2 separate regions of the Homo sapiens genome follow, and region 1 is linked to region 2. Evidence: promoter capture Hi-C in human tissues and cell types (Jung and others, 2019). All regions are on one chromosome and are shown on one strand. The core of a region is centred on a gene start or on the middle of the fragment in contact, and the rest is flanking DNA. Distances in the headings are between cores, read along the strand shown.

Region 1 (5,675 bases), core at 47-2,546, 66 kb before region 2:
TCAGCTTAGTTTCGTCTGGGTAAAAGAATGGATTCAGCTTTTCAACCCTTCCTCTCACCACCATTTAAATTCTAGAATACCATCTTTTAGAGAAACTCAATCCAAGCCTCAGAACAAGTAATTCCCTAGTAAATATTAAAACAGTTTAAAAGGTCATTGATTTGGGGTGAGGAGAGCAAAGGTCATTCATCTGAAAAAGGAATTACCACAATAAAGAAAAAAAAAGCAGACTGTTCAGGGGATCAAATTAGAAATATCTGGAAGAGCAAAGCATTGGAAGTCCAGTAATACCTTTGTCTGTTTTTAAAACAGACAAAGTAAAAATGGCAGAAAGAATTGCCATCACCTTCTGTTAAGGCTTGCTGTAAATAGGAAGAAAACAGGTGCCTGTCACTCCCCTCAATTATATTGGGGCCTTTGTTTTTCCCTAAATCCACAGAACAGGTGCCCTGCCACAATCTGAAACTTACTGGGGGATTTCAGTAAACTTGCATAAGAATATGTTTTAAGGTCAAGAGAGCAAAAAGTGAAACAAAAATAAGCAATATTCTGAACACTTAAGGATTATTTTAGAGTTATAATACATTTTAAACATGTATACTAGATTGTTTATTTCTCCCAATAACCCTATAAGGGAGTTCTTATTTTTCCTATTTTTTAGACAGACACTCTGAGATACACAGCAGCCTGAAAGCTGTGCTAACTTCTGAAATAAACTCTTAAGCTAATATTGTCAAGAGGCAAAAGTAGCCACGATGAAAGGAACAGAACTAAAAAATGATAAAAATTCTTGAAGCTAATCAAGAGAGTATAGTAAGGGTATAAGGATAGACAAATAGGTCAAAAGAATAGAATAGAATCCAGAAATAGAACTATATTTAATTGATCAATTGATTTTCAACAAGGTGCCAAGACAATTCACTGAAGAAAGGAAAGCTTTCAACAAAAGGGGCTGGAACCACTGAATAGCCACATGGTAAAAAAATTGAACTTTGACCCTTAACTGACATCATACACAAAAATTCAAGCTGAATCACAGACCTCAAGGCTAATACTATAAAGCCTCTGGAAGAAAACCTCGATTATCTTCATGACCTTGGGGTCGGTAAAGACGTTTTAGGCAGGAAACAAAAAATTATCTATAAAACAAAAAAAAACTGATAAATTGAACTTCATCAAAAGACATTATTAAGAAAATAAATAGGAAAGCCAGAGACTGAGAGAAAATATTCCCAATACCATGTATCTGACAAAGAACTTGTATGCAAAAGAACACCTATGACAATAATTGAGACAAAAGTAGAAAATTAAAAATTGAAAATATTCAAAATATTTCAACACTCACAAAAGAAGATATATGAATGACTAAGAAGCACATGAAAAGGTATTCAATGTCATTAGTCTTCACAGATAGGCAAATCAAAACCACAACGATTTGCTTCTTCCCAAAAATTGAAAAGGCAAGAATTAAAGACAAACAAAATCAAACATTGGCAAAGCTGTGGAGCAAATGAAACCATCATACATTGCCAGTGAGGGTATAAAATGGAATCAAATAGTAAAACTGTCTCATAGTTTCTTATGAAATAAACATAGAACTGTTTTATAATCCAACAATTCTGCTTCTAAATACAGTATTCACCCAAGAGAAATGAAAGCATATGGCCACCAAAAAGATTGTTCAAGAATGATTTTAATAGCTTTATTCATACTTACCAAAAACTGGAAAAACCATAATGTTCATCAGCAGAAGAGTGCAAAGACAAGTTGCGGTATATTCATACAAGGAAATGCTAACTACATCACATAAAAAAGTAAGAAACTACTGATACACACAAAAATATCTAACTAAATTTCAACATTACACCAAGCAAAAGAAACCAGACCCAAAAGAGTATGATTTCATTTACATTAAATTAAAAAATAAACAAAACTAATGTATAATAATCAAAATGATAATAGTGGTTGTTTCTAATGGGGTGGGGGCAGTGATTAGCTGGAAAGGAGCATGGCTTAGTTTGCTCAGGCTGCTATAACAAAATACCTTAGACTGGGTAATTTATAAACAACAGAAAATTTATTTCTCCCAGTTCAGCAGGCTGGGAAGTCCAAGATCAAGGCACCAGCAGATTTGGTGTGTGCCAGGGCTGCTCTTTGCTTGTAAGATTGCTCCTTCCTGCTGCTTCCTCACATGACGGAGGGGGCAGGGGAGCTCCCTTCAACCTCTTTTATAAAGGTATTAATCCCATTCACGACAGCTCCACCTTCATGACTTAATCACTCCCCAGTAACTATACTTATATCAGATAAAATAGACTGCAAACTAAAAACAAACAGAGACAAAGAGGTCACTGTAAATTGATAAAGGGGTCAATTCAGCAAGATAAAACAATTATAAATATCTATGCACCCAACACTGGCACTCCTAAGCATATAAAACAAACATTAATAGATATAAATGGAGAGATAGACTGCAATGCAATAATAGTAGGGATTTCAACACCTGACTGTCATTAATGGACAGATCTTCCAGACAGAAAATCGACAAAGAAACATCAAAGTTAAACTATACTCTAGACTAAGTAGGTCTAACTGACATTTACAGAACATTTCACCCAACTGCTGCAGAATACAGTCTTTTCATCAGCACATGAGTTCTCTAAAATAGACCATTTCTTAGACCACAAAACAAGTCTCAACAAATTCAAACAAGTAGAAATCATTCCTGGTATCTTTTCTGATCACAATGGAATAAAACTAGAAATCAATAACAAGAGGAACCTCAGAAAATACACAAACACATGAAACTTAAACAACTTGTTCCTGGATGACCAATGGGTCATTGAAGTAATTGAGAAGGAAACAACAATTTCTTAAAATAAAGAAAATGGAAATACAACATAACAAAATCTATAGGATACAACAAAAGCAGAATGAAGAAAAAAGGTTTATAGCAATAAACATGTATATCAAAAAAGTAGAAAGACTTTAAATAACTTAATGATGCACCTCAAGGAACTAGAAAAGAAAACAAACCAAACCTCAATATAAGTAGAAGGAAAGAAATCATAAAGATCAGAGCTGAAATTTGCATGAAATTGAGACTAAAAAAAAACACAGAAGATCAATACAATAAAAAGTTGGTTTTTTGAAAAGATAATCAACAAACCTTTAGCTAGACTAGGAAAAACAGAGAGAAGAGTCAAATAAATGAAATCAGAAACAAGTAGCGCATGCCTGTAATCCCACCACTGGGAAGACTGAAGTGGGAGGATCACTTGAGGCCAAGAGTTCAAGATCAGTCTGGGCAACATAGGGAGACCTCATCTCTACAAAAATAATAATAATAATAATAATAACATTAGCCAGGTGTGATGATGCTACATGGAGGGTGCTATGTGGAAGATCACAGGAGCCTAGGAGTTTTTGGCTACAGTGAGCTATGATTGTGCCACTGCACTCCAGCCTGGGTGACAAGGTGAGACCCTGTGTCTGGAAAAAAAAAAAAAAAAAAAGAAAGAAACAAAAAGGAGACACAACAACTGAGACTATGGAAATATAATGAATCACTAGAGACTATTATGAACAACTACATGCCAACAAATTGGAAAATCTAGAAGAAATGGGATAAATTCCTGGGCACACATAGCCTATCACCATTGAGCCAGGAAGAAATAGAAAACTTCAACAAACCCCTAACGAGTAACAAGATTGATGCTATAATAAAAAGTCTCCCATCAAAGGGAAACCCAAGGCCTAATGGCTTCACTACTGAATGCTACCTGAACATTTAGAGAAGGACCAATTCTACTCAAATTCTTCAAAAATAAATAAATAAATACATAAATAAATAAGAGGGAACACTTTCAAACTAATTCCATGAGGCCAGGATTTCCCTGATACCAAAAGCAGACAAGGAGACAAGAAAAGAAAGCTACAGGCCAATATCACTGATGAACATAGAGGCAAAAATCTTCAACAAAATACTAGCAAACTAAATTCAACAACACACTGAAAAAGATAATTTGTCACAATCAAGTGGGATTCATCCCAGGGATGCAAGAATGGTTCAACATACATAAATCAATAAACATGACATATCATATTGATAGAACCAAGAATAAAAAAACATGATCATTTCAATAGATACTGGAAAAGCATTCAATAAAATTCAACATTACTTATTTTATATATATGTGTATATATGTATACATATATATGCGCATATATATGTGTATATATGTATACATATATGTGTGTATATATGTATACATATGTGTGTGCATATGTATACATGTGTGTATGTATACATGTGTGTGTATATGTATACATATGTGTGTATATGTATACATGTGTGTGTATGTATACATATATGTGTGTATATGTGTATACATATATGTGTATATATGTATACATATATGTGTGTGTATATATGTATACATATATACACACACATATGTATACAGATATATGTATATATATAAAACCCTTAGACAAGCGTGTGGTGGCACATGCCTATAGTCTCAACTACTCAGGAGGCTGGGGTATGAGGAACCCTTGAGCACAGGGGTTCGAGGCACCAGCCTGGGCAATATAGTGAGACCCCCATCTCTAAAAAGCAAAACAAAGCAAACCCCTCAACAAACTGGGTATAGAAGGAACATACCTCAAAATAATAAAGCCCATATAAGATAAACCCACAGCTAGTATCATACTGAGCAGGGAAAAATTAAAATCCTTTCTTCTAAGATCTGGAACAAGACAAGGATGCCCACTATCACCACTTTTATTCCACATAACACTAGAAGTCCTGACCAGAGCAATTAGGCAAGAGAAAGAAAGAAAGAGCATCCAAACTGATTTCATCTTTACAAATTAATGAATGTATTAAATTATCACATATACCCCAAAAATATGGACATTTATTGTGTATCATTGAAAAGTAACATTTTTTTTTTTTTTGACAGAGTCTCACTCTGTCACCCAGGCTGGAGTGCAGTGGCGCGATCTTGGCTCACTGCAACCTCCGCCTCCCAGGTTCATGCCATTCTCCTGCCTCAGCCTCCCAAGTAGCTGGGACTACAGGCGCCCACCACCACGCCCGGCTAGTTTTTTTGTATTTTTAGTACAGACGGGGTTTCACCGTGTTAGCCAGGATGGTCTCGATCTCCTGACCTTATGATCCGCCCGCATCGGCCTCCCAAAGTGCTGGGATTACAGGCATGAGCCATCGTGCCCGGCCAAAAAAAAGTAACATTTTTTAAAAATAAAAAAAATTTTATAAACTTCATTGAAGTTGACAATAAAAGAATAATAAGATAATTACATAACTATCACAAGTAGTTCCACCTTAATATTAGATTGAAAACGTTGAAGGTAAATGTAGGTAAATATGTCATAAAGGAGTCTGTGAAATTCTAATTTATTTCTGTGTTTTTGTCTCTTCCAGGGAAACAATCGATTTTATTGTTTGTTTCCTTGTTTTTCCCAGAAGGGGGATAGTCTTAAATGCAATTGTGTACCAAGGATTAAGAAGGAGGTTATCCTTTTCGCTCAAGCAGTCAAGCAGCAATCTTCCCAGAATTCCCTGGCAAATGTTTCAGGCGACATGGAGACTAAATTATTTATTTGTTGGATTAACATTGATTTTTCCAGGATATACCATTTCACTGATT
Region 2 (4,940 bases), core at 1,075-3,574:
ATTTCTCTGATGGCCAGTCTGAATTGTTTGGCTCCTCTCTGTATACTTGCTCAAGATCAGGCTCAAATGCAAATGGAGCCTGATCTTGAGCAAGTATACAGAGAGGAGCCAAACAATCCAGATGGGATCATCATCAGGCCCTGGGAAAGAGCAGTGCTACTCTGCTTAGGAAGGAGCACTTTGTCAGGGTCTAAAGAAATCAGCCAGTGGCTAGAGAACAGCTTGCCCTTGCATCTAGGGTAAACAAAAAAGTAAAGTATCATTTAGGGTTCTTTGTAAGCCACACAAGCCAAATGGGGCTAACTAAATCAAACCAAAATTAATGGGAATTCTTTGAGCCTTCTACAGAAGGAAAAAGTAATCGTAGCTCCAGAAGAAAAAGTATCAGGGAGGTGCTGAGTTCATCAGGGCCTCATGGGCAGTCCCTTTTGGGTACTGCTGATATGATTTGACTGTGTCCCCACCCAAGTCTCATCTTGAATTGTAACTCCCATAATTCCCAAGTATTGTGGAGGGACCTAGTGGGAGGTATTTTCATCATGGAGGCAGTTTCCCCCATACTGTTCTCATGGTAGTGAATAAGTCTCACTAGATCTGATGGTTTTATAAGGGGTTTCCCTTTTCGCTTGGCTACGATTTTTCTCTCTTGCCTGCTGCCATGTAAGATAATGCCTTTTGCCTTCCGTCATGATTGTGAGGCCACCCCAGCCAGGTGAAACTGTAGGTCCATTAAACCTCTTTCCTTTATAATTATCCAGTCTCGGATATGTCTTTATTAGCAGCATGAAAACAGACTAATACACTGCCATCTGAATAACTCAGCTGCCACCATGCCCATTCTTAAGTCATTCCACTCAAGATTAAAATTCCACAGGAGAAAAGTAAAAGGACTATCTTAGACCGGGTGTTGACCCACTTGGTTAGAAGAAAAGGCATATGCTGATCAACAGCCCCACCATGATCTCAGGTAATAGATAGGAGTCATTCTCCAAAGGTAGGGTGAACACATGTTAGAGTGTTGCCCTGGACAGTCCCAGTTTATAACTGTTTTTTTTTTTTGGGGAGTAACCATAAATAGCATCACTTTTCACCTGCACAAAACTGTCCAAGTTTGGATCATAAATTGCATGATCAATTTACACAAAGGAAATTTAGGGCATCGTTACCAAAGTAGCAATGCTGAGCAGAGACAAATAGCTACCATTACAATGAGGCTATTAGAAGGGGTCAAAACAGAGTATTTTGCCCCCAGTCTCTCACAACCAAAAGATGATAACCAGAGTCAAAAGTCCCTATTGGTCTTTAGGTTTTGACTACAGCATGAAAATAACATTCCTATACTCAAGTGTTGAATTATTATGACTTTGACCCAATAGTTCCGGTCCCTTTTCTTCCTATGTCCTTGCAGCTAAGCCACTAAATGTTAAGGTGTTCTCTTTCACTGCTGCTTTTTTAGCTTAATTGGCCCTCCTGCTTTCCAAAATAGAATGCTAACACCCATTCACCCAGCTGAAGGGTCAGGGTGATACCAGATCCAATATTCCCCAAAGCCTGTGTAGGCTGGTTGCTGTATCCCTGACTACTGATTAATAATAAAGGAGTTAAATAGCACCTTTTGATTCTGATTTCCTCTGAGAGGCTGTTCTACAAGCATGGGGTCAACTAAAAGGAAGCAGGGTTTCGTTTAATATTTTCTCCTTTCATTAGTGCACTTAAATTACTTTCTTGTAAACTCTGCTTGTTACCTAAATGTACTAGCACTTTTGTTACCTAATTAAGTTTCTTATCAGAATTCCAACCAAAAATAACAAGAAATGTAATAATGATAAGATATCGTGCCCTTCAAAACAGATTTCCTTTTGCGCTTTATCTCTTGGTACTGTTCTGGCTTGTTTAATTAAAGTATCAGAAATTATTAGACTCAAATTATTTCTTGATCTAGTGCTCAAATTCTCCCGAAAACCTGCTTCTTCTGCCTCAATATTTAAACCTTTATCAGTATGAGGCAGATGAGTTTCCACATGTTTGCAACTGGATTCATGTAATTCAATACAATTTTGGAGGACGATCCTAATTTAGCCGCTAAGTAATTAAGCAAACAAATCAGATTTGGGTACACTGAGCTACTGTGAACATTTAAATACTCATGCTCTTGGATCATCAAAAGGAACAACGTCCATGTGCAAAAAACAAACCTTATGAAATTCTAGCATGGAGATGTGAAATTCAAAGCAACGTTCTTATTTTTTTCATCAGAGGGATGGGGCTCAAAATATCACCAAGTTCAAACCACTAACATAAGTTTTGTTCAAGGAGGGTAGTCATGTCTGTTACAGGCTTTACCATAACTGATGAGAAAGTACACTTATATCACAGCATTGAGAAGGAGAAAACTGTAAGACATATTGGCGATTTGTGTTCCTCACACTCTGTGAAAAAAATTCAGGTTGGAATCTGCTTGCTTCTGGTGGAGCTGTGTGAGAGGTTCACGTTCTTTGAAGTCGTCTGCAACATGATCCCCTTTTGCACTATCAAGCTTGGCTATCACAATTGCCAAGCAGCCATCTTAAACTTGTGTTTTATTGGAACTTCAATACTTACCCCTGTGTTTGTCAGATGGCTCACTGATGTCTATTTAGGAAGAAACAAACTGGTGTACATTTGCTTGTTTCTACATTTTCTAGGTGAGTGTCCTCTGCTGACTGGATTGTTTTGTGACTTAATTAAGTAGATTTTTGTTAGAATTTTTAGTTTATATTATTTTCACTCTGCTCTTAGCATAAAATGTGATAAATGAAGTAAGAATGTGGGTTCAATGTATTTCATTCTTTGTACTATTTGAAGAATGCTAGTAAGTCTGTGTGTGTGTGTGTGTGTGTTAGAGAATGTTTTGTGCCTATATCATTGCATTTATATTTTATAATAATTACTCCTTTACATATCTATCTTACTCCTTAGAATGCCCTCCTTTCCCAAAACCTTTTTACCTCAAGCCTAAATTCATGACAAATTCCCTCAGAAATGTGAAATGTATTTGCTTCACAACTAAGATGAAATGTGCTAAAAAAGGTTTTTGAAGTTCATGTAAAATAATTGAGAAATGTTTTTATCCAAAGGTGGTCTTTTAATTAGTCATATAGTAATTAAGATTGCATATGATGGCATGATTTCTATATTTTTAACTATGATTATATGCTTTAGAAATGAGTAAATTAGACACTATAGTGTGCATCTTTACATATATACTAATATATATCTGCAAAAGTTTGGGACCGATTGTGAGAAATGCTGGGAAAATATCAAGATAGTTTAATAAGAAATAGAGAGCAACTTGAAGAACAGACTAGAATTTTAAACTGAAAAGTTCAAGTTATTCTTCTTAAGCAACAAGAAGTCTCTGAAAATATCATGAAAACAACATTTGAGAAATGCTATTCTGCAATACAGGATGGACAACCACAGTGAGGAATTAAATAGAGAGAGATCAGAAAATCTCAGGATGATGGTTTAAGCAATAAAGTGCCAATTCAGGAGAGAACAAGTGAAAAGCTGTAAGGCAACTAAATAAAGGTACAAATGTGATGGGGGTCAAAAATTAGCTCCAAGTTTCTGATCTGAGCAACTTGGGAATATAGCATGCTGTTCACCAATAATGAGAAGTGCAGCTGAAATGAGTATTGGTAGGGGGACAGATGAGAAAGAGATGGATAGATATCAGGTACTCAACATATCACACAATCTCAGGCAGGTGGTAAATTACCATTCAGAGAATCCATTGGAGTTTAAGTCAAACCTGGAAACTTCACAGCTTTAGTTCTGTGGAATAAAAACTAGGTCACTGCATGGCAAATAATCACTCAACATTCAACAAATATTTCTTATTGACTACTCTGTACCAGACATTATTCTGGGTCTGGAAATGCAATAGAGAAGAAAGTCGTCTGTTCCTGCTAAAGTTGACTTTTTGGTGCAGGGAGAGAGAAAATAAAAGAGGAAATAGATATGATGTCATGTGGCAATGAGTTAGGATGGAAAAATAAAGCTGGGTAGGGGGACAGGATGGAATGGATGGTGATGAGGCTGCTACTTGGTACCGAGAAAAAGTTTTCTGATAAGAAGACATTTAAGCAAATCCCAGACTAACTTACTCTGCTTACCTTGGTAACAGGCCACACCAGTAGCATTTGTTGACTTCTTGTTTAACATGGTAATTTCTATCAGTCTAAATTCTGAGGTCAGTCATCAGACAGGATGGAAATCCCAACTTTGGAATCTGGCAAACAAAAGACTTAAGTCAACTCTACATCCATTCATTTTTTTACTAAAAGTTATTTCTTTGTTGCCCTCCACTTACAGCTGCCATCAAATTCCAACTGTCACTAAATTTCAGAGGTTATATATAAGAAAGGTCTTCTGTCTGAATTGCTACTACCCTAGCTGAAAAAATGCAGCTTTCTTCTTTTTAACCATTCCAATGGCCTACTTACTCGGCTGCCAGTTCTCAGTCAGTCTCCAGCTTGTACTCCATTCTACCAACAACACTGACTTCCTGAACAAATAAATCTCTATATTGCTTCTATTATCTAAAAAATGAAATCCAAACTTATTAATTTAGCATACAACAACCTTACCAACCTATTCTAAGTTCACCTCTCTAGACTTGTTGTTCAACACGCAACCCCAACCTTGCTAACTTCTCCTGGCCTCCTTCCCTAGTTTTCTAATCTTGTACATGCTCTTCTCTCTTTCTGAAATTGTCACCTTCCCTTATCTTTCCATCCCTTATCCATGATTGGAAAACTCCTGCTATTCTTTCAAGAACCAAATAGTGTTTGTTGCTAGCTTCTCTGTGTTCAACCACACCCATATAATACTTATACGATTGCATCCATCACTTTATAATATAATTGTCCACCTGCATGGCTGACTTCTCTGATGGA

What was found. Contacts are between HindIII fragments. The study calls those that stand out against the background at their distance.
Region 1: a contact is called between a fragment that was not itself captured here and the fragment with the promoter of SLC15A5 in region 2, in 2 of the 25 tissues and cell types used here (H1 embryonic stem cells and small bowel).

The regions. Positions count from the first base shown.
Region 1 is chr12:16,339,793-16,345,467 of GRCh38, reverse strand. No RefSeq gene overlaps it. Among named protein-coding and RNA genes, the nearest start is that of MGST1, 5.0 kb to the left of the region's middle. The HindIII fragment of the contact is 4,250 bases long and covers 1-3,421 here.
Region 2 is chr12:16,275,069-16,280,008 of GRCh38, reverse strand. It overlaps SLC15A5 (solute carrier family 15 member 5), which reads left to right and starts at 2,324. Exons shown (of 9, transcript NM_001170798.1): 1 at 2,324-2,684. The coding sequence starts at 2,324. It overlaps LOC101928362 (a long non-coding RNA gene), which reads right to left. Exons shown (of 11, transcript XR_001749028.1): 10 at 4,158-4,273; 11 at 3,484-3,816. The HindIII fragment of the contact is 12,619 bases long and covers 1-4,658 here.